Linked DNA regions of Homo sapiens: region 2 is linked to region 1. The links are contacts of gene promoters, found by promoter capture Hi-C in human tissues and cell types (Jung and others, 2019). All regions are on one chromosome and are shown on one strand. The core of a region is centred on a gene start or on the middle of the fragment in contact, and the rest is flanking DNA. Distances in the headings are between cores, read along the strand shown. Region 1 holds the start of TMEM234 (transmembrane protein 234). Region 2 overlaps LCK (LCK proto-oncogene, Src family tyrosine kinase).

Region 1 (4,559 bases), core at 1-2,500:
AGCAGAACAGTTCCAAGCCAGGACCCACCTGTCGATGCCAAGGTGAGGTAATAGAGAAGGGATCCACACTGGTTGAGGAGAAAGGGCATCAGGTACTGGAAAGAGGAGAAACCTGCAGTCAGTGTGATGGCCTGACTGAGCAGCACTGCCTTCTTTGAGCTCCTAGCGAATGTCTTTCCTTGGAGGGAGGCAGGGTTATAAGGACCCAGAGAACACTAATCCCTCTAAGGAGGATCCTTCCAGGGCAAAGAGGGAAACAGACTGAAGTCTGTGCCTTTGCTCAAACTACCCTCTCCCTCACCTCTGCTAGTTCCCATCCTGCAAGGCCTTGAAGCCAATGTCAGCCCCTCCAGGAAGCCTTCCCCAAGTCCTCCAGCTCCAGCCTTCCTCCTCTGAACTCCTCCCCTGCAGGGCCAATTTGAGCCCCAAGCCCTCCCTCTGGAAAGGCTCACAAATGTTGCCTTATGTAACTGAAGGAATCACAATAAAATGTGAATAATGGCAGCCATAGATTGAGCACTTACTATGTTCTAGGCCTAATGCTAAGTGCTCTACGTATCTCACCTAATTCCTGCAACTGACCTATCAGATGGTTATTATTATAATCGCCATTTACAGATGATGAAACTGAGGCTCAAGGACAACTGACTTTTCCGAGAATTTCTAGTGAGTAAGTGGTGGGGCTGACCCAGACCTGTTTGACTCCAAAGACCAAATTCTTGGCGGCAACTCCACCGAGAGAGGGGCCTTTCACAGAGACGCACCTCAGTATTCAAGAAGAGGGTCTTCATCTCCTGTAGCAACTGCTGGGCCCAGGTCGGCTCATGAACCCGCTGCAGGCCGGCGGAGGCCCGCTTCAGCAGCGGCTGCGTGCCACCCCACAGAGCGGCCACCAGCACCAGAGCCAACACCTGCCCTGAATGCAGACGAGTGAGTCACCCTGACCCCCACCCCAAACGGCCGCCCACCCCGCCCTCTCCTGGCCTTCTAGCCCCAGCTAGCCGCCCCCACTTCCCTCCTTCGCTCTCTTCGCCTCGGCTGCGACTGGCGGCTAAGGCAGGCCCAGGGAAGCTAGGGAGATGAATCCAGGAGTCCGGCCTCTGGGGTTGTAGCAGGGGTCGGGGTTAGAGGGTGGATGTGGAGCAGGAAATGAATTCGAGGCGAGGGTCGGGAAATCCATGGAAGGGCGGGGCCGGCTACCTACCCAGAGACGCCGCCATGGCAACGCCGCTGTCTTCTACTTCCGGGAACGAAGGGGCGGAGACCCATAATCCGGAAGTGACCTCGAAACCTTTTCCGGTCTTACTCACGTTGCGGCCTTCCTCGCGTCACAGCCGGGATGGTGAGTTTCAGAGTTAGGGGTATTGCAGTGGGGGTCCTGGGCTGAGGCTGGGGCCCAATTCCGAGCACTGACGTTACTGTCTTGTCCCCACAGAAGCCGATCCTACTGCAGGGCCATGAGCGGTCCATTACGCAGATTAAGTATAACCGCGAAGGAGACCTCCTCTTTACTGTGGCCAAGGACCCTGTGAGTGTTGGCTGGAGGGGGTCCGGGAGGGGCGGGATCCTTCTGCCAGGACGATGGGTGGACACGCCAGTTTTGCCGTTAGCGGGGAACCAAAGAGCAGCCCATTGTGAGAAGTAGGGAGAGGCCATGCCGGGGGTAGGTTGGCGAAAGTATTCTACCGGGAAAGGTGGGGAAGAACTCTATTGGCCGAGTGCGGTGGCTCACGCCTGTAATCCCAGCACTTTGAGAGGCCGAGGTGGGAGGGTCGCTTGAGCCCAGGAGTTGGAGACCAGCCTGAGCAACGTAGTAAGACCCATCTCTACACACAAAAAAATTAGCCTGACATGGTGGCCTCGCGCCTGTGGTCTCAGCTACTTCGGAGTCTGAAACGAGAGGATCGCTTGAGCGCGGTGAGCTGAGATCGTGCCACTGCACTCCAAGAAAAGCAAGAGACCACTGTGGAAAGGGGATAAAGATGAGGGTCAGCTTGCCCAGAGAACGGGATGCGACCTTTAGGGATAATCTAATCTTTCTACCAGGATAGGTGCAGGCTGTGTTATTCAGACACAGGGAACTTAATGAGGGTGTCTCTAGTCTCATTTTAAGTCAATCCCATCCTGCTACTCAATGCCAAACAATCCCTCATGATACTGCCTTTTGAGGCACCTGGCCATTTTATTTTATTTTTTCTTGAGACGGAGTCTCGCTCTGTCGCCTAGGCTGGAGTGCAGTGGCGCGATCTCGACTCACTGCAACCTCTGCCTCCCAGGTTCAAGCGATTCTCCTGCCTCAACCTCCCTAGTAGCTGGGACTACAGGCTCGTGCCACCATGCCCAGCTAATTTTTTGTATCTTTAGTAGAGATGGGGTTTCACCATGTTGGACAGGCTTGTCTTGAACTCCTGACCTCAGGTGATCCGCCTGCCTCGGCCTCCCAAAGTGCTAGGATTACAGGCATGAGTCACCACACCCGGCCTGGCCATTTTCAAGATGAGAAAACTGAAGTTCAGAGGAGAGAAGCACTGTATTTGAGATCATATAGTGAGACAGTGGCAGAGCAGGCACCAGAACCCAGACTTCCTTACTACCAGCTGCTCCCACTTGGATAAGACATCAGAGATACTGTTTTTCTGGACTGGAGCTCAACTTGGCCTTTTATTCTTTGGAGCCGTTGGGAGTCCCAGGAGAGCTGGAGCTAACAAATGAGGATGCCTTTACAAGCCGCCTGACTCCTCTGTTGCTTCCCTTCAGGAAGGGAGGAGAATCCAGGAGTTGGTCTTTTTACCAGCTCCCTGCTGTTTCCCAAGAAATAAACAGAAGAGGGCAGAATCAGCCTTGCTACAGGCTGCTGAGGGTTCCTGGGGCAAAATAGGAAGCCATTGCTCTTACTGGGATGTGTACTATCCTGTGGTTTGACTTTTCCAGATCGTCAATGTATGGTACTCTGTGAATGGTGAGAGGCTGGGCACCTACATGGGCCATACCGGAGCTGTGTGGTGTGTGGACGCTGACTGTATCCTTATTTTGGGTCTGAGTCCGTGTTGCTAGGGTCTGTCAGCGATGGAGAGGCTGAGTTGGGAGTTGGGAGTTGGGGGTGCTGTTGAGGGCCTAGAGAACGATACCTCCTACTCCCTGGTCTCTTCACTGACTGAGGAAACATTCAGGACAAATTCCAGTTCTGGATAAGGAGGTAAGAGGGGTAGAAAGGCTCTTTGGGGCTGAACAGGGAGATGATTCACTTGGCATCCCAAGAGGACAAGGGCTCGGGTGAACTTCGTCATATTTCTTAACAACTCTTCAGGGGACACCAAGCATGTCCTCACTGGCTCAGCTGACAACAGCTGTCGTCTCTGGGACTGTGAAACAGGTAAGCTGGGTTCATTCACCTTTTTAGCAAATATTGAGGACCTACAGTGTACCTGTTTGAGTAAACAGGTCCTAGGAAAATAGAGATGAAATCCATAGATAGTTTCCAGTCTAGGGAATAAGAGACAAGAAAGATAGATGAGAAAATACACGCCATGGTAGAGGAAGCATAGATTAAGTTTTCTTTTTTTTTTTTTTTTTCTTTTTCTTATTTTGGAGACAGAGTCTCACTGTCACCCAGGCTGGAGAGCAATGGCACTATCTCGGCTCACTGCAACCTCTGTCTCCCGGGTTCAAGGGATTCTCCTGTCTCAGCCAGCCCCAGTAGCTGGGATTATAGGCGCACGCCACCATGCTTGGCTGATTTTTTTTTTTGAGACAGATTCTCTCGCTGTGTCACCCAGGCTGGAGTGCAGTGGCACAATCTTGGCTTACTGCAACCTCCGCCTCCCAGGTTCAAGTGATTCTCCTGCCTCAGCCTCCCAAATAGCTGGGATTACAGACATGCGCCATCACACCTGGCTAATTTTTGTATTTTTAGTAGAGACAGGGTTTCACCATGTTGGCCAGACTGGTCTCAAACTCCAGACCTCAGGTAATCCACCCACCTCGGCCTTCCAAAGTGCTGGGATTACAGGCATGAGCCACTGCACCTGGCCACCAGCTAATTTTTGTATTTTTAGTAGAGACAGGGTTTCACCATGTTGGCCAGGCTGGTCTCGAACTCCTCAGCTCAAGTGATCCACCCGCCTTGGCCTCCCAAAGTGCTGAGATTACAGGCACAAGCCACTGTGCCCAGCCTAAGCTGTTCTGTTTAGTGCCAGGTCTATGCTGGGTACTGGGGACATGGAGGGAAATCAGATCAGGTCTTTGCTGTGGAGAAGCACAGTCTGAGGGAGAGACAGATATATTGCAGTCTACGTATGAGTAGTGCCACATTAGCAGGATGTCTGAGGAAAGAGTCTAGGTAAGAAGTTAAAATACTTGGCCAGGTGTGGTGGCTCACGCCTGTAATCCCAGCACTTTGGGAGGTTGAGGCAGGTGGATCACCTGAGGTCAGGAGTGCAAGACCAGCCTGGCCAACATGGTGAAACCCCGTCTATTAAAAATACAAAAATGAGCCAGGCATGGTGGTGGGCACCTGTAATCCCATCGACTCAGGAGGCTGAGGCAGAAGAATCGCTTGA
Region 2 (5,144 bases), core at 2,252-4,751, 53 kb after region 1:
AATCCTAGCATTTGGGGAGGCCAAGGCAGGAGGATTGCTTGAGCCCAGGAGTTCGAGATCAGACTGGGCAACATAGTGAGACCTCATCTCTACAAAAAAATAATCAGCTGGGCATGATGGTGTGCACCTTTAGTCTCAGCTACTGGGGAGGTTGAGGTGGGAAGATTGCTTGAGCCCAGGAGGTCTAAGGGGATTGCGCCACTGCACTTCAGCCTGGGAGAGGAAGGGAGACCCTGTCTCAAGAGAGAGAGAGAAAGAGAGAGAGAGAGAGAAAGAGAGAGAGAGAGAGAAAGAGAGAGAGAGAGAGAGAGAGAGAGCGAGAGAGCGCACGCATTTCAAAGCAGGGAGAACCACAAGTACAAAGGCATTAAGTAAGAAAATAGCATGGGGTGTTTGGGAAAGGCAAGAATAGTTCAGAACACAGGCTGTGTGTGTGGGGGTGTGTGGGGGTGCCTGTGTGTGGGTGTTTGTGTGTGTGTGAGTGTGGGTGTGTGGGGGTATCTATGGAGGGGATGCCTGTGTGTGTGTGTAAGGTGAGTGTGTGGATGTGTGCATGGGTGTGGGTGAGTGTGTGGAGGTGCCTGTGTGTGTGTATGAATGTGTGTTGGGGAGGGGAGAATGTGTGTGTGTGGGGTGAGTGCGTGTGTGTGGGGGTGAATGCGTGTGTGTGTGTATGTGGGTGTGACTGTGTGGGTGTGTGGACGAGTGTGTGTGTTCCTGGGTGTGGGAGCCTGTGTGTGTAGGGGGAGTATGTATAGGGTGTGTGCATGAATGTGTGTGTGGGTACGTGTGTGAGAGTGGGTGCCTGTGTGTGGGGGGTGAGTGTGTGTGTGGGGGGGCACTTGTGGAGGGTGAGTGTATGTGTTTACTGAGTGTGAGTGTGGGTGCCTGTGTGTGGGAGGGTGAGTCTGTGTGTGAGTGTGTGGGGGAGTACCTGTGAGGGGTGAGTGTGTGTGTTTATGTGAAAGTGTGTGTGTGTGGATGCCTCTGTGGAGGTGGGATAGGGGGTGCCTCTGTGTGTGTGTGTGAGAGTGTGTGTGTGTAGGGTGTGTATATGTATAGGGTGTGTGTGAGTGTGTGTGTGTGAGAGAGTGTGTGTGTGGCAGAATAGACTGCGGAGGTGGATTTCATCTTGATATGAAAGGTCTGGAATGCATGGTACATTAAACTTTGAGGACAGCGCTTTCCAAGCACTCTGAGGAGCAGCCCTAGAGAAGGAGGAGCTGCAGGGACTCCGGGGGCTTCAAAGTGAGGGCCCCACTCTGCTTCAGGCAAAACAGGCACACATTTATCACTTTATCTATGGAGTTCTGCTTGATTTCATCAGACAAAAAATTTCCACTGCTAAAACAGGCAAATAAACAAAAAAAAAGTTATGGCCAACAGAGTCACTGGAGGGTTTTCTGCTGGGGAGAAGCAAGCCCGTGTTTGAAGGAACCCTGTGAGATGACTGTGGGCTGTGTGAGGGGAACAGCGGGGGCTTGATGGTGGACTTCGGGAGCAGAAGCCTCTTTCTCAGCCTCCTCAGCTAGACAGGGGAATTATAATAGGAGGTGTGGCGTGCACACCTCTCCAGTAGGGGAGGGTCTGATAAGTCAGGTCTCTCCCAGGCTTGGGAAAGTGTGTGTCATCTCTAGGAGGTGGTCCTCCCAACACAGGGTACTGGCAGAGGGAGAGGGAGGGGGCAGAGGCAGGAAGTGGGTAACTAGACTAACAAAGGTGCCTGTGGCGGTTTGCCCATCCCAGGTGGGAGGGTGGGGCTAGGGCTCAGGGGCCGTGTGTGAATTTACTTGTAGCCTGAGGGCTCAGAGGGAGCACCGGTTTGGAGCTGGGACCCCCTATTTTAGCTTTTCTGTGGCTGGTGAATGGGGATCCCAGGATCTCACAATCTCAGGTACTTTTGGAACTTTCCAGGGCAAGGCCCCATTATATCTGATGTTGGGGGAGCAGATCTTGGGGGAGCCCCTTCAGCCCCCTCTTCCATTCCCTCAGGGACCATGGGCTGTGGCTGCAGCTCACACCCGGAAGATGACTGGATGGAAAACATCGATGTGTGTGAGAACTGCCATTATCCCATAGTCCCACTGGATGGCAAGGGCACGGTAAGAGGCGAGACAGGGGCCTTGGTGAGGGAGTTGGGTAGAGAATGCAACCCAGGAGAAAGAAATGACCAGCACTACAGGCCCTTGAAAGAATAGAGTGGCCCTCTCCCCTGAAATACAGAAAGGAAAAGAGGCCCAGAGAGGGGAAGGGAATCTCCTAAGATCACACAGAAAGTAGTTGGTAAACTCAGGGATAACATCTAACCAGGCTGGAGAGGCTGAGAGCAGAGCAGGGGGGAAGGGGGCCAGGGTCTGACCCAATCTTCTGCTTTCTGACCCCACCCTCATCCCCCACTCCACAGCTGCTCATCCGAAATGGCTCTGAGGTGCGGGACCCACTGGTTACCTACGAAGGCTCCAATCCGCCGGCTTCCCCACTGCAAGGTGACCCCAGGCAGCAGGGCCTGAAAGACAAGGCCTGCGGATCCCTGGCTGTTGGCTTCCACCTCTCCCCCACCTACTTTCTCCCCGGTCTTGCCTTCCTTGTCCCCCACCCTGTAACTCCAGGCTTCCTGCCGATCCCAGCTCGGTTCTCCCTGATGCCCCTTGTCTTTACAGACAACCTGGTTATCGCTCTGCACAGCTATGAGCCCTCTCACGACGGAGATCTGGGCTTTGAGAAGGGGGAACAGCTCCGCATCCTGGAGCAGTGAGTCCCTCTCCACCTTGCTCTGGCGGAGTCCGTGAGGGAGCGGCGATCTCCGCGACCCGCAGCCCTCCTGCGGCCCTTGACCAGCTCGGGGTGGCCGCCCTTGGGACAAAATTCGAGGCTCAGTATTGCTGAGCCAGGGTTGGGGGAGGCTGGCTTAAGGGGTGGAGGGGTCTTTGAGGGAGGGTCTCAGGTCGACGGCTGAGCGAGCCACACTGACCCACCTCCGTGGCGCAGGAGCGGCGAGTGGTGGAAGGCGCAGTCCCTGACCACGGGCCAGGAAGGCTTCATCCCCTTCAATTTTGTGGCCAAAGCGAACAGCCTGGAGCCCGAACCGTAAGTGGGGACCCGTCGTGGGGGTGGGTAGGAGCAGATCTAGGGATCCTGGAGCAGGGAGTAGGCCTGGGGTGGCGGTGAAGGCTTGAGGGCCACGGAGGAAGATCCGACGACAGCCGACGGCCTTCGTTCGCTTCCGCCCTGCACAGCTGGTTCTTCAAGAACCTGAGCCGCAAGGACGCGGAGCGGCAGCTCCTGGCGCCCGGGAACACTCACGGCTCCTTCCTCATCCGGGAGAGCGAGAGCACCGCGGGTGAGCGGGCGGCGGTCTCGACCGGGCGCGGGGGTGCCCCGGGGTGTGCCCGAGGGGGGGCGCAGGGTGAGCCCGAGGTGGAGACACGGGGTGAGTCGGAGGGGGACGCGGGATGAGCCCGAGGTGGGGGCGCGGGATGACCCGGAGTTGGGGGTGCTGGGTGAGCCCAAGGTGGGGGCGCGGTGGCGGGCCAGACTCACTGCGTTCTTTCGTCGCTTTGTCCATCCATTCATTCATTCAGGATCGTTTTCACTGTCGGTCCGGGACTTCGACCAGAACCAGGGAGAGGTGGTGAAACATTACAAGATCCGTAATCTGGACAACGGTGGCTTCTACATCTCCCCTCGAATCACTTTTCCCGGCCTGCATGAACTGGTCCGCCATTACACCAGTGAGCCCGACGGGACCCCTCCCCCGTGCCCTATCAGCCTATCTCCCCTCAGTCCCCCTCAGGTGTCCCCCATCCATCTTTCAATGCCCTACTCCATTCCCCGCAGTGGGTGAGGTGTGGAACCTGACCCTACGGCCCCAAGTGTTTGGGTGACAGCCCCACACCCCCTTGCTAGTCCACTTCACCTAGATGGGGGCTTGGAGAAGTGGGGGAGGTGGTGTCAATACGAGGCCTGCCCTATTGACAGCCTTCACCCCTCCCTCGTCCTCGCAGATGCTTCAGATGGGCTGTGCACACGGTTGAGCCGCCCCTGCCAGACCCAGAAGCCCCAGAAGCCGTGGTGGGAGGACGAGTGGGAGGTTCCCAGGGAGACGCTGAAGCTGGTGGAGCGGCTGGGGGCTGGACAGTTCGGGGAGGTGTGGATGGGTGAGTGTGGCCTCCAGGACTGCCTGGGAAGAGGGGAACGGGAGGGGCCGCTGAGGTGATGAGAGTCCCAGGACAGCTGCCTGGCGACTTTCCCACTCCTTCCCTTCCCCGACCCAGGGTACTACAACGGGCACACGAAGGTGGCGGTGAAGAGCCTGAAGCAGGGCAGCATGTCCCCGGACGCCTTCCTGGCCGAGGCCAACCTCATGAAGCAGCTGCAACACCAGCGGCTGGTTCGGCTCTACGCTGTGGTCACCCAGGAGCCCATCTACATCATCACTGAATACATGGAGAATGGTGGGTGCTACCCGAGTCGGCTACCAGGGGATACTGCTCTCCCTGCTGTCCCTGCCAGAGGGTGGAAATACACCTTTTCTTCTGGCCCAAAGCTCAAGCAAGGAGGGTTTCTTGAGCTTTCCTGCCCCCTGGAGACTCACCTCCAGCCGGGCGCGGTGGCTCAGGCCTGTAATCCCAGCACTTTGGGAGCCGAGGCGGGCAGATCACGAGGTCAGGAGTTCGAGACCAGCCTGACCAATATGGTGAAACTCTGTCTCTACTAAAAATACAAAAAGTAGCCAGGTGTGGTGGCACATGCCTGTAATCCCAGCTACTCAGAAGACTGAGGCAGGAGAATCCCTTTAATCCGGGAGGTGGAGGCTACAGTTGCAGTGAGCTGAGATCATGCCACTGAACTCCAGCCTGGGTGACAGAGCAAGACTCTATCAAAAAAAAAAAAAAAAAAAAGACTCACCTCCAGGCATGAGAAAAAGGTGTATCCTCTGATCTGATCCTGTCTGGGGGCAAGCCTAAGGTGGCAAGAATGTTCTGGAAGAGCATTCACCCCAACCTTCCCTGACCTGCCATTCTGTTTGCCTTCTTCAAAGCCCTACCTTGATCTCAGGATGCTTGATCTCAGAAAGCAAGTGGGTCCCTAGCCCTGTTTCTCTCCCTTCTGCCCCTGAGCCCTAGGAGGGCAGATCTGCCCCC

Evidence for each region. Contacts are between HindIII fragments. The study calls those that stand out against the background at their distance.
Region 2: a contact is called between a fragment that was not itself captured here and the fragment with the promoter of TMEM234 in region 1, in 1 of the 25 tissues and cell types used here (small bowel).

Annotation. Positions count from the first base shown.
Region 1 is chr1:32,221,103-32,225,661 of GRCh38, forward strand. TMEM234 (transmembrane protein 234) reads right to left here and starts at 1,251. Exons shown (of 5, transcript NM_019118.5): 1 at 1,205-1,251; 2 at 765-916; 3 at 29-95. The coding sequence starts at 1,220. It overlaps EIF3I (eukaryotic translation initiation factor 3 subunit I), which reads left to right and starts at 1,305. Exons shown (of 11, transcript NM_003757.4): 1 at 1,305-1,342; 2 at 1,436-1,528; 3 at 2,932-3,019; 4 at 3,308-3,373. The coding sequence starts at 1,340. RefSeq lists enhancers at 524-1,723, 1,000-1,633. The HindIII fragment of the contact is 14,812 bases long and covers 1-4,559 here.
Region 2 is chr1:32,272,333-32,277,476 of GRCh38, forward strand. LCK (LCK proto-oncogene, Src family tyrosine kinase) reads left to right here. Exons shown (of 13, transcript NM_005356.5): 2 at 1,993-2,102; 3 at 2,405-2,486; 4 at 2,661-2,751; 5 at 2,989-3,087; 6 at 3,237-3,340; 7 at 3,582-3,731; 8 at 4,005-4,157; 9 at 4,275-4,454. The coding sequence starts at 1,998. Among named protein-coding and RNA genes, the nearest start is that of HDAC1, 17 kb to the right of the region's middle. The HindIII fragment of the contact is 9,449 bases long and covers 1-5,144 here.